Regions from separate parts of the Homo sapiens genome. Here all the other regions are linked to region 1. Evidence: promoter capture Hi-C in human tissues and cell types (Jung and others, 2019). All regions are on one chromosome and are shown on one strand. The core of a region is centred on a gene start or on the middle of the fragment in contact, and the rest is flanking DNA. Distances in the headings are between cores, read along the strand shown. Region 1 holds the start of PXDC1 (PX domain containing 1). Region 2 overlaps SLC22A23 (solute carrier family 22 member 23). Region 3 overlaps LOC124901246 (a long non-coding RNA gene).

Region 1 (4,255 bases), core at 119-2,618:
GCACACTGGCTGTTTACTTCCAGTTCCCACGGCCCCTATTCCCCTATACAAAATTACACAGGAAACATATGCGTTCATTTAATTAGCAAGTGTATATAAAAACATCATAGACAAAGCAAAAGTCTCTCTTGACACTCTCCATCTTGACCTGTTCACCGCCCCAGACCAGGTGAGGAAATTTGAAGCTATGCTATCTGCAAGTCACTGGCGCAGTCGGAATAAAAGTTGGTCGTGGTGGGGGCGGGGGGGGGGTGGTCATCTGGGTCGGGACTGAGTCGAGGCAGGTGGGACTGAGTGGTAGGGACCTGGGGGGACATCTGGGTCGGGTCTGAGTCCAGACAGGCCACCTGCCTTGGGCCTCTAACATTTCCGCGCAGCGCTGGGCTTTGAGGCTTTCCAGAGCGCTGCCGGGGCGGGGGCGGGGTGAGGTGAGGGGCTCACCCTGGCTCTCCCACCCCTGCCTACGGGCTGTGAGGTCACTCGATTCATTTCTGGAACTAACTTGTAATTCTCAAACAAGTGCTATTAATTCTCTTCCAACTAGGAACGGCCTCAGTAACGCGCCGCTGAGTCAGTTTTCAGGGCGGGCGGTTTCCCCAAGTCCACTCCTGAGGCCCCTCAAGAGCACCCACCGCGTCCAGCTTCCCAGGGCGCTCCTTCCCAGGAGACCTTCTTTTCGCCACTGTTTTCTCCCCTCTTCCCACTTCTCCGAGGGCTGCCCCGCGGTCTGTCCGGCCGTGTCCCAGGCCTTGGCGCGGCTGAGGCATGACCGGAATGCGCGGGAGGACGCGGGGCACGGAGGGGACCTGAGGCACGGAGGGAACCCGGGGCGGGCCGGACTGGCCTGGGCCCTCGTCGGGGCGGTGCTCGACCCGGCCCGCGCCCCCCGCCCCGACACTCGCAGCCCCGCCTCCGGACCCCGGGTAGTTGCCATCCCCTCGCGGGCCGGGTGGGGCGCGCAGCTCCTAGCCCTGGGAGGTCCCGAGGATCGCGAAACGGAAAGAGAAAAAAGTCTGCGCCGAGCGCCTGGCAAGCAGGGCCCGCCCCGCCTCCCTTCCCGGCTGGTCCAGTCACCGACCTGCGGCTCCGGGGCCGCGAGGGAGGAGGCGCGGGGGGCGCGAGGCGGGGGCGAGCGCTTGGGACTCGGCCCGGCTCCCGGCTCCGGGGGTTCTCGTGGCCGCGGCAGCGCGGTCTCTGCGGAGGCGGCGGGGGCGCGGCCAGCCGGACCTCTTCCTTTCCAGAGCGGCCCGCGGCGCCCGTTCCGCGGGAGGCGGGCGGGAGGCGGACGCGGCCTAACCTCGACGTCGACTACCGCGCCGCCCGCGATGGGAAGCGCCTTATAAAGCCGCGCCCGGCCGGCCCGAGCCACTCGCCGCCGCGCCGCCCCGCTGCCCCGAACGCGGGCCATACGCAGCCTCCTTGGAGTGACGGGCCGACCCCGGACGACCCCGGCCACGGACAGACCCGGGACGACCCCGGCCGGGGCGCGCCTCCTGCGGGCGGGCGGGCGGCGGGGCTGGGGAGCCCTTGGCGGGGGCATGCGTGCGACATGGCCTCGGCGGTGTTTGAGGGCACGTCGCTCGTGAACATGTTCGTGCGCGGCTGCTGGGTGAACGGCATCCGCAGGCTCATCGTCAGCCGGCGCGGCGACGAAGAGGAGTTCTTCGAGATCCGCACGGAGTGGTCGGACCGCAGCGTGCTCTACCTGCACCGCAGCCTGGCGGACCTGGGCCGCCTGTGGCAGCGCCTGCGCGACGCCTTTCCCGAGGACCGGTCCGAACTGGCGCAGGGGCCGCTGCGGCAAGGTGCGGGGCCGGGGACGCGGGAGGGGCGCGGGGCCGAGGCAGCCTTGAAGTGCACGAAGGAGGCGGGGAAGAGACTTCAACCGAGATTGCGACTTCTCCTTTCTGCCCGCCCTGGACAGGGGACACTTGGACCCCGCGCCCGCAGACGAGGGGTGCCCGGGCGGCGGGGTTAGGGGGACGGGGAGCCAGCCTGCCCAGCCTGGGGGCGCCCCCGGCGGAGGAGCCAAATGGGGCGGGAAAGGGGCCGAGGCCGGCAGGGCGGGCGCCGGACTCTCCCTGAGGACGAGTCACTTCCGAGGAGGGCGGGGGCGCCCGGGGCTGAGCGGCTCACAGGGTCGGCCCGGCCCTAGCCCCCTGCCCGGTACCTCCCGAGGGCCGGCGGGCGGGCGCACTGGGAAAGCGTCTGGGAGCAGTTAACTGCAGGGTCCGAGCCGGGGGTCGCGTCGGGTCTGGCCGCCGCCCCGAGTTCTCCCCGCGGAGGGCGCGCCCCTGGTCTTCGAGCGCGAGGTGCCACGCAGCCCTTCCGTCCCTCCTCGGAGCGGCCGCCCCGCCCGCGGCTGCCGCGGACAGCCAGGGCCCCCCCGCACCCCCGCCAGGGCTGGTCCCCATTCGCGTTTGATCAGCTGCGCCGCCTCCTCCCCGGCCTCGTGACCGTCCTGGCTCGCGGGAATTCTTGTTTTCAGAAACCGCGGTGGCTTCCCTTTTCCTACCGCTCTGCCCGATCTTTCTTTTGGAGGCCAGGCTGAGGGGGTGGAAGCCGGGAGGACGCAAGAGAGAGGGACTGGAATTGAGACGGGAAGAATTGCGGGGTGGAGGGGGCAGGCCGAGGAGAGGGGCCGCCTGGGAGGGCCGGGAGGGGAGAAGGGGCGGGAAGACTGGAGGACTTCCGAGCAGGTCCCACCCCCCTCCATGGGTGACCACCTGTAGCTCGGAACATTGGGACAGTGGCCCAGCAGCCTTCTTTTCTGCAGTCCTCCTCTAAGCAGAGACCTCCTGAAAGCTTGGGGCCAAGTTACTGAAGCAGAAGGTGGCCCGTCCAAGTCTCCCCAGCCTCCTATCTGGCTGCGTTCTTGAGATAACCTGTGCTTTCCCCTGGCGATGGCCCCAACCCCAGTGTGAGAATTACGTGGATAATTAGCTTAGTTCTCATGACACATCTTTTGGAAGGGCTCCCACAGCCAGCGAGTTGGGGCCCTGAGCGAGAAGGCCCGCCTTTCAGGCCTCCCTCTGCTCCCCAGAGCCTCACATTTATAGCTGTTCTCCAGACAGTTGGGTGTTATTTCAAGCATGGAAGCAGTTTTCCTTGGATTTGCTGTTTGTTATGATATTTTAAATTTAACAAATCAATGCCCAAATCAGGAAAGCATCGTGAAGGAACAGCGGTTTATTCAATGACCTTTCCTGGAACGAGGCTTAAATACACTGGAGTCCCTGAGCTTCACTGTGGTCAGGCGTCTGAGCTCCGTGACCCCAGGCAGGCTGGTTGGAGCGGGATCCCCGTGGGGCTCCCCACCTGTAACTTTGTGCTTGTGGTCTCTGACGTTTGTGAGGACTGAAAGGCATGGTAGAGGGTCTAACAAGAGCAGGTTCTCCATAAATGCCAGTTGTCATTGTTACCGTCCCATCAGCTGCTTCTGGCTGGGGTTGGGCCAGACGGTGGAAAGAGGGCGTGGTTTCAGTTGCATCCACGCTGGTGGAAATACCTCACCTGGAGCAGGAGGGAGGGGCGTGCCCTGCACACACCCTGGCTCCGCCTCTTTTGCTGTCGCCCTAGTTGTGCTGGGTCTGTTACGCGGTCACAAGCTGTGTGGACACGCAGGAGTGGCTCAAAAGAGTGAAGAAAGGTTGAAGACGCGAGCGATTACCGTGGAGAAAAGGCTCAGAAGGGATATGATAGCTACCTCCAAGTACCTCAAGGGGAACAGAAATCAGAAATAGGGGTCAGAATGATGGTGGCAGGGCTGGTGGGCGGTGAGTGTGAGGTCCAGCGGCTGGGTGTAAAGGACTTTCTCACAGCACACCGTGGAACTGTTGGAGCTGCTCTCTCTGCTGGGGACAGTCTGGCACACCCTGGAGGGGGTGAAGAGGGGAGCCTGGGACCAGAACCGGGACCATAAGCCCTGCCTTCATTCTAGTCCTTGGTTTTCTGAGGGGCAGTTAGTTGGTCCCTGCCCAGCACCACCTGAGTTTTGTTGTGCAGCGCCAGGGAAGTCCTTTCCCTTTCTTTGATCCTTTTAAGTCCAGGGAAATTGTTTGCCAAGTAAAATATATCCCAGTAATGTAAAAGCAGATTGCACCTTATTTCCATGCAGATTTATTGTTTGCATAAAAAGATTATCTGGATATACAAACTATAAACACAAAAGGCAGCCAGATGTGTGTGCTTTGCTGTGCTGCAATGCCGGCTTTTCTCTGCATCATTCCCTATCACATTCCCCAGTTTACATGGA
Region 2 (4,462 bases), core at 542-3,041, 390 kb after region 1:
TCCTCACTGGAGCTGTGACTCCTTCCGGTGTTTTCCTTGGGTTGATGAAACAGAAACTCTCCTGGGGCCTTTTTTATTTTATTTTTTAATTTTATTTGTGGTAAGAACATCTAACATGAGACCCACCCTCTTAACAGGTTTTTTCAGTGTACAGCACAGTATCGTGAACTATAGACACAATGTGTGCAGCAGAGTTCCAGAGCTTATTCATCTCGCCTGCCTGAAAGCTGATGCTAGTTGACGAGCAACTCCCCATGTCTCCCTCCCTCTACCCCCGGCAACCATCAGCCCACTCTTTGATTTTCTGAATTTGCCTATTTTTACATGCCTCATGTAAGTGGAATCATGTAGTATTTGTCCTTCTGTGACTGGCTTATTTCACTTAACATAATTCCTCCAAGTTCATCCACGTGTCGTACGTGTCAGAATTTCATTCGTTCTTAAGCGGAATCATATTCTATTGTATTTTTCACTGTGTTTCGTGTGTCCCTTCACCTATCAGTGGACCTCTGCGTTGTTTCCATATCTTGGCTGTTGTGGATAACACTGCAGTGAACGTGGGAGCGCTCACGTCAAGTGCTTTGAGATCCTAATTTCAATTCTTTTGGATAAGTACCTGGAAGTAGAATCACTGGATCATATGGCAGTTCTAGTTTTAGTTTTTTGAGGAACTGCCATACTGTTTTCCATAATGGCTGCACCATTTTTGCATCCCTACCAACAGTGTTTAAAGGTTCCAATTTCTCTCCATCCTGGGGACTTTGATACTGAGAACCTAACCTGTCTAGCCTCTTCTGCACTGGCCGCCTTTGCAAGAGCTGGTTGCCTCTCTGAAAACTCTCCTCCCAGGCCTCTTCCCTTCCCCTCACCCACATGGCAGGACAGTCCTACTTCCTTTTCCCTTAAGGGAAGATTCAAATGCTGCTTCTTTGGTGAAGTCTTCCCCAGGCCTCGTCCCTTTCTTTGCATTCCTGTAGCACAGAACCCCATCTGTGTCTTATAGGCACGTGTCTCTTCATCAGACTGTGAGCCCCTTGAGGCCGGTGGTGTGGCTTCATCTCGGCATCTCCCCTGGCATGGTGCTACCTCATCCTCCTTGCTGAATAAGTGAATGAAATGCATTCATTATACACAGCCGCCTTCTGTTTTCCATTATTTGTCATTATTCAGTGTGTTCTGTGAACCAGGAGCTGGGCATGGCTTGTTGAATAAGAACACAGTCCCTAAACTAAGGAGCTTTTAGGCTGGTAACCAAAAAGGGAAATTCTAAATTTTTTTATGATAAGCTTTTAGATATCTTTTTGATATTTAGAATGAAGTAAACACAGTAGATGTAGTCCAATTTTGGAAATCATTTAAGACCTGAGCCTAATTGAGCAGGTAGAAAGCCAGGAAGAACACACCTACTTTGTATTTGCAGTCCTTTCCTCATGCTAATTGATAAGGCGATTAATCCTTACACTATTGCTGAGCCACAACCCCATTTAAAAATAAAAATTAGGAAAGCTGTCTGGATAATTATTAGCAAAGACTTTACAGAGGCTGGGATAAGTCCTCCAGCTGGTTGTTTGCACTGGGAGTTTTACAGTGTACTTGACCTTTGCTTAAGGTAAGGGAGTTTGTTTGGCAAAAACAATGATACATATTTCCATGGCATTGGAATCCTGCTGGATTTCTGAGACTCTGGGAATGCAGATGTGGGCACTGGAGTAAATGTGAGCATTTCATTACAGTGCCTGCCTTGTTTTGGGTTTTTTTTTTTTTTTTTTTTTTTTTTTTGGCTCTGTTTTGGTTTTCTCTTCCAGGCTGTATTGCTAGGTTTACTGCTTTAAAATTGTCTTTATGGTCCAGGCTGCTGCAGCCTTTAGAACAAACCACGACAGTTGGGATCTAGAAGCCTGCGCCTCTCCTAGAGACACCACCTGCATCACAGTGTCGGTGACCTGACCTTTGAAGGGGCCATTTCCCATCTTGGAAATGGGGATACTACTTGATATTCTTATTTATAGGATTTGGTGAGGGCATATGAGGTAACACATCCACAGATGCTCTGAAGGGCTTGAGCGGGATCCTGCACCTTATTACAGGTGGTTGTTGGTATCTTGGGCAGGTTTCAAGACCTGGAGGTTCAAGCCAGCCCATCTCACTGCTGAGCCAATAAGGAGGAAGACAACAGGGTTACAACAAAGCTTCAGGCTTAGGAAGAAATGTTTCACGTGGATGGTGTCCTGGCCAGCGGGTTTGGTTCTAAAATAAACACTACTGTCTCTGGGGCTGAAGATTTGCCCAGGACAATGAAGCAGCCAGCGGGAGGGTAGTGCAGAGCCGGTAAGTTTAGGGTCAGCTTTATTTTCACAGGCAAATGAGGAAGTGAGAGGCTGCTAAAATCACTCCTCTGAGGCTTCCCCTGCCCCTTGGATGAGGTCGCTGCCATCTCTGAGATGGGGGTGTGGCCTGTTACCCTTGTAGGCACCGAGGGTGGATCTAAGACACTGTTTTACCATCCAATCCTGTCAGCGGTTCCATGGCCCACCGGTTTCCTTTTGAATGTTTCCAGGAGCCAGAAGTCCAGATCCCAAGGGCTGGCACGCAGAAGGAGGGCCCTCCCGAGAGAGCACGCGTGCTTCGATTTCTTTCGTGATTATGAGATGTTTCTGATGTCACGTGTATCTGCTACCCGGACTCGGAAACAAGCCTCATTAATAAGTCCCACCCTCCCGCCTCCACCCACCCCCGCCTCCTCCCGCCTCCTCCCCCTCCCGCGCCCCCCGCCTCCTCCCCCTCCCCTGTCCACAAGTCTCCCCACCCCGTTTGCTGTTTTTCATCCTCATGAGTTTCGTTAGGTTTTCCCACATCTAGAACACTGCGTTGTACAGTTTTGCCTTTAAAAAAAAACTTCCTACAAATGCTGTCGTACTGTGTTTGTTTTTCTGAACTTCCTTCTTTTTTTAATACCTCAGCGTTATATCCAGTGGCTCCTCCGTGTCGATGCGGAGACAGGGAATGAGTGAGAGCGACGCCGGCTTTGAGAGCTGGGGTTTGTGCAGGGCTGAGTGAGACCTTGGGCTCCCGTGGCCCAGAACTTAAGAAATAGCAAATGAGAATAGTAGATGAGCCAGAAATTGAGAGTAAATTTGGGAAGGCACAGAAAGGACTGACCAGGCATCAAGTGGCCTAGCTCTGGAGCCTGGGAGTGGGGCTGATACAGGGAGCGGGGCGGGAGGGCCCAGACCTAGCCCAGACTCATGAGAACGGTAACCTTGTTATGACCTTGGCCTTCACACAATAACTTCCCTCTGCCCAGCAACGTCCTGTTCTCTTATACACATGGTAAGAGGGAAAATATCTATCTATAAATACATTTATATTTCTAAGAGATCATCATGGAGATTTTTTTTCTCGACCCAGGGAGGGTTGCTTTGTTGCATAGAACAGGGTGTGACGAACCCACGAGCAGCATGCTTGTCTTCCTCCCGTCTTTTAAGTTCAAAGGCTTCTCACTGTACCTAATAAGTCGATGTCTTTACTGATATTATTTCTGATTTCCAGTTTGAAGATGAGAAAACTGGTGGTTATCAAGGCCTCTCTATTCATCCCATTTTATTTGAAGAGCTACTGGATAGTATTTGGAGGGAGACTTTTTTTTTTTTAGCTGGGGAGGGTGGCGGCCACAAAGACAGGGAGCTGTTTCCAAGCAGATAGAGGGTAGGAGCCCAAAGATAAGGATTTGAATACTGCCATGTGGAGAGGCGCTGGTTTTTTTTGTTTGTGTTTTTATAAACTCGGTAGTAGGAATATCTTTTATTGTTTTTCCTGTTGCCTGTTTAAAGGAAAGAGTGTAGCACAAATTGTCCAAATGCCTTGTGCTTTTAGGGGCAGAGTTAGATACTGTCACCCTCTGGCCCTCAGGTCCTGCTTTGTCTGTTCTGCGTGTTGTCTACCCATGAACTAATGAGGCTGCCTGCTTAATTGACCTGGAAAGACAAGTGTCAGTTGAAGAAGATGATGTTGAATTATGAGATTCAGAAACCCATTACATGGCTACTTGGCCCAGCATAGTACCTTCCCCATTTGTTAGACATTCACTATTTGATTAATTAGTAAGAAATTAGAGATGGTGTGGATCATTGAAATCTAGAGCAACCCCTCCAACACCTTGACTTCCCCCTAACACTCTTACTGGGACATCAACTAAAAACAGACTGTGTTTCAGTTCATCCATTGCTTTACCCACTAATAAATGGTTCACCCATCCTTTCTTGAGTGCCTGCTGGATGCTGGGTCTCTTGAGGATGGAAAGACATTGCCTTGCCTTTGAGGCACAGAGTCTCTGCTATATCGATGGATCTGACCACAGTACAGTGGTCACTACAATCGAGGAACTTATTAAATGCAGCAGGGACATGGAAAGAGAATCTGAATCTTCTTGAGATTTTCTTTTGTTTACCCAACCCACCTCATG
Region 3 (4,289 bases), core at 1,135-3,634, 420 kb before region 1:
AACCTCCACCTCTCAGGTTCAAGCGATTCTCCTTCCTCAGCCTGCTCAGTAGCTGGGATTACAGGCGCCCACCACCACACCCAGCTAATTTTTGTATTTTTAGTAGAGGCGGGGTTTCACTGTGTTGGCCAGGCTGGTCTCGAGCTCCTGACCTCAGGTGATTGGCCTGCCTCAGTCTCCCAAAGTGCTGGGATTACAGGGGTGAGCCACTGCATCCAGCCGAAGAGCTGCATTTCTAACCTGAAACTAGAGAAGTTAGATAGATCTCAGGAAGAAATGTGGCAGAAATAGAAACTGTTGTAGTTCAGAGGGTGGCTGTTAAAAAACAGATTTCAGAATTAAAAAATCAAAACCTCTTGCAATTTTTTTTTTTTTTGAGATGGGGTCTTGCTCTGTCGCCCACGCTGGAGTGCAGTGGCGTGATCTCGGCTCACTGCAACCTGCGCCTCCTGGGTTCAAGCAATTCTCCTGCCTCAGCCTCCTGGTAGCTGGGATTACAGGTGCACACCACCGTGCCCAGCTAATTTTTGTATTTTTGGTAGAGACAGGGTTTCACCACGTTGGTCAGGCTGGTCTAGAACTCCTGACCTCATGATCTGCCCTCCTCGGCCTCCCAAAGTGCTGGGATTACAGGCGTGAGCCACAGCTCCTGGCCTTAATGTATTCATTCTTAACAATTTGGAAAATTCCATGAGACGTTAGACAATTCTAGCCATCATCTCAAGTTAAATTTTCTATTAACCATTTCTACATTACTTGTCTGTTAGGCACATATCATGAAAGCAAGAATCTTAACATTAAATACATGCATATTTTGCTGATAACTCAGAAGATCTTGTTACTTTTATTAAACAAACAGTATTAAACTAGTGTTAGTTGCCAAAAGTTGACTAAAGTCACATGAACTTGAAAAGCATTTGGGCTTATTTACTTAATTTATGAATACTCACATTTATTTAAAAGTCAATGTGGGGCCAGGCCCGGTAGCTCAACAAAAACACACGAACGAACAAACGAAGTCAACTTGGTATTATGTAGACAACATACGAACAGACATGCATACACCTGTATACATAAAAATATATACAGACACAAATAAAGATTGTATGGCTTTAATTTTAAAATTTTAGCCATGTGTCAGGTATAACTTACTTGTTTAAATGGACGGTTGGATTCTAACTATGTCTCTGTAAATGGAACAGGTTAAAATTTATGTCTCACATGGCCAAAGCCCTTACTGAGTTTTAGAGAAAACAGGGTAGCAATTTACATGTCAAATAACTGAGAGAACCTAAGCTTTGTCAAGAAGGAGTTTGAGTGTGTTACAGGAGGATTACAATGGGTGCCAAGATAACCTAAAATTACAGGAATTTATCACAGGATTTTATGAGGAAAAATAAAGATGAGCCTAGACAAAGTTTAGAAATCTTTTCAAAATAATCAGCTGAAGGCCAAAAAAAAATCATATCCTGGAGACCAATTTAGTTATGTGATTTCTAACTTAGTCTCCATTTTCTAACTGTACTGCTGAGCTCAGGGCTGCCAACTCAAGCATTAGCCCCCCACTTCAAGAGAAGGAAATAGGGGCTTGATAGGCCTCTAAGGAGTTCCTTTCCAGGAGGTGCATTGTATGGGAACCGATGGAACACACGAAAAACAATGATTGTCAGTCAGGACCCCCCAGTTGGAGGGATAGAGATTTAGGAACCATCACAGGTTGGTCGGCTCCTGCAACCATCCAGATGAGTTCAGAACTCTGGCAGGGACACTCCAGAGTATCAGGGTTAAGGACAGTGGCTCAATGTCAACTAGAGCTCTATTCCCAGAATGTCCCTGGATCATCCCTTGTCCTGCTTGAGGGTAGAGGGCCAGGGACTTTATCAAGATTTAATTGCAGCCTTCATTTGTATTTGGGGCAATCCTTTTTAAAATGTCTGGAACATCTTCTGAAAACACACTTTTTTTTTTAAATTTTGGTTTTGAAGAATGGGCATGTTTGAGGTGTCCCTTGCTAATTGTTGTAACTGAAGGACCATTAACTTAGCAGCCTTCTCTTGACAGTCTAATGCTCAAGTAGCCCTAGATTCTTTATTCTTTTCTAAAGTTTTGGATAATGAATTGGCCAAAGAGGCTATTTCATAAGGTTACTTTACAGCCCAGTTAAGGTCAAGCTGTTTTACCAGGGTACTGAGAGCTTCAGAAAGACCAGCCCCAAAAAAAAAAAAAAAAAAAAAAAGGAATTAAATAAATGGAATGTTTCATCATTTAAATATTTGATCTCCAAATTTTGTTGGAAAGTCTGTTCAAATTTATCAAAATAATCAAGAATGGTCTCATCCTTTTTTTGTGTAAACGGTGTATGGCTTTTCAGTTTATCTGATGGGGAAAAAATAGGGGAATGGCTTTTAGTAATTTGGTATCCTGTTTCTGTGCCTTATCAAATCCTTGGGCACCGGTCTGCTTAAAGTCCTCAGAGTCTTTCCCATTCAGCAGCTAACAGCTGATCAAGATTGATAAGCCCTAATGATTAGGCTACAATGTTACTCAAATTCAAGGAAGTTAGTCTTCAAGGGACTAGGGAAATGTTTTACTAGGGCCAAAAGTTCTGACATGGACTAAGGAGCGTGGAATTTGCCAATTTCTACTCCCCATTATTTGGGCCTTAAAAGGGGCTGAGTCTGGAGGAAGTGGAAATGTCAGAAGAGAAAAAGAGGAATTCAGAAAGCGTGAAAGAGGAAGGAGGGAGTGAAAGGTAAAGTAGAGGCCTTGTAAAAGATGCAGCAGACAGGCAAGGTGACAGGAGAGGTGAGCTAGCAGAAGAAGGGTCTTAGGTTTTTCTGCAGCTTTAGTTTCAGTCTCCCAAGTGCTAATCTCTTTTTAATTCATTAAGATGTTTGCCTAATTTGGAATTGCTTTCTTTAAGGGAAGCATAGTAGCTCTTGATTTTATTCGAAACTCTAAAAGTACCAACTTGAAAAGGCTTTTCATTATCTCTGGGAAGTTCAGTGTTTTCTTTGTTCTAATTGTGAGCACAGATAGGCAAGTTTTAGAATTTCAAAAGAACCCCATCTTGGCCAACAAAGTTTTTAGATCATCCCAGGTAATTTTTGTCCAGAGACCTAGCCAATTACAACTCTCTGGAACATAATTTTTGCTCATAAAGCCAGTTGGAGTGCCAGAGGGCAGCTGATCATCAGGGAAACACAGAAATCACGGGTTACCCATTGCACTAAGCTGATGAAGGCATCCCTCTAGCGCACCTTAGAGTGTCCTCACAAAACCTGATGGAACAGCTGGGTCTGCAACCTTATGAAGAGGCCACCTCTGCAAACCAGATGGAGAGGCCCCCCTTCCTGGGGAGGTCTCTTTCAGGGTCCAGATGAAGAGGACTGGCTGAGGAGGTTAAATAAAGGCTCTGAGGCTTAGATCAAAAGCATGGGAGAAGTGCGCGGTGGTTCACACCTGTAATCCCAGCACTTTGGGAGGCCAAGGCAGGTGGATCACCTGAGGTCAGGAGTTTGAGACCAGCCTGACCAACATGGCAAAACCCCGTCTCTACTAAAAATACAAAAGTTAGCTGGGCATGGTGGCACACGCCTGTAATCCCAGCTACTTTGGAGGCTGAGGCACAAGAATCACTGGAACCTAGGAGGGAGAGGTTGCAGTGAGCCGAGATCATGCCACTGCACTCCAGCCTGGGCAACAAGAGTGAAACTCCATCTCAAAAAAAAAAAAAAAAAAAAGGCATGGGAGGTCTGAATTCAAGAGGGCTTACCTGAGGCTTCCTGGCATCTCTGAGAAGACAACTGAACTCAAAGGACCCTTGAAGATCCCAATGTGTTGGTTCAGGACAGCATCAGGAGAAGAATCAGTGTTGCTTGAATTCCACTTCTGATTCCAAAGAATGTGAACAAAACTTCTCTGAAAAGGAATGTAGAGGAAAGAGACTTTATTCCAGTAAATTTTTCATACCAAAGAGACACAGCTTTCATGTAAAGTGAAGGTGCAGTCCAGAGAACAATGGGAAATTTGACTTTTATAGAGGAAGTTCTAACCCAGGTTCTCACTAAAGTCCACATATACACATGAAACATTTAAATGTGCTTAGTTATGATTGTTTGACGTTTACTGAGCTCTGGTTGGTTAATGTAGGTCACAGCCTATTGGTTGGTTCAGGCAACAAAAATAGGAACAGGCAACTATGAAAGTCTCAAAGTTATGCAGACATGCAGGTTTTCATGGAACTCAGAACACGTATGTGACCTCTAGTCAGCAAATGGTCACTTGGC

What was found. Contacts are between HindIII fragments. The study calls those that stand out against the background at their distance.
Region 2: a contact is called between a fragment that was not itself captured here and the fragment with the promoter of PXDC1 in region 1, in 1 of the 25 tissues and cell types used here (heart right ventricle).
Region 3: a fragment that was not itself captured here is called in contact with the fragment with the promoter of PXDC1 in region 1 in 1 of the 25 tissues and cell types used here (spleen).

Annotation. Positions count from the first base shown.
Region 1 is chr6:3,748,826-3,753,080 of GRCh38, reverse strand. It overlaps PXDC1 (PX domain containing 1), which reads left to right and starts at 1,368. Exons shown (of 5, transcript NM_183373.4): 1 at 1,368-1,805. The coding sequence starts at 1,550. RefSeq lists silencers at 855-1,024, 1,075-1,314, 2,065-2,144. The HindIII fragment of the contact is 13,410 bases long and covers 1-4,255 here.
Region 2 is chr6:3,354,374-3,358,835 of GRCh38, reverse strand. All of the region lies in intron 3 of SLC22A23 (solute carrier family 22 member 23), which reads left to right. Among named protein-coding and RNA genes, the nearest start is that of PSMG4, 98 kb to the right of the region's middle. RefSeq lists an enhancer at 1,803-2,693. The HindIII fragment of the contact is 4,734 bases long and covers 1-4,158 here.
Region 3 is chr6:4,170,787-4,175,075 of GRCh38, reverse strand. LOC124901246 (a long non-coding RNA gene) reads right to left here. Exons shown (of 5, transcript XR_007059416.1): 3 at 3,776-3,921; 4 at 951-1,065. Among named protein-coding and RNA genes, the nearest start is that of ECI2-DT, 37 kb to the right of the region's middle. The HindIII fragment of the contact is 6,100 bases long and covers 1-4,289 here.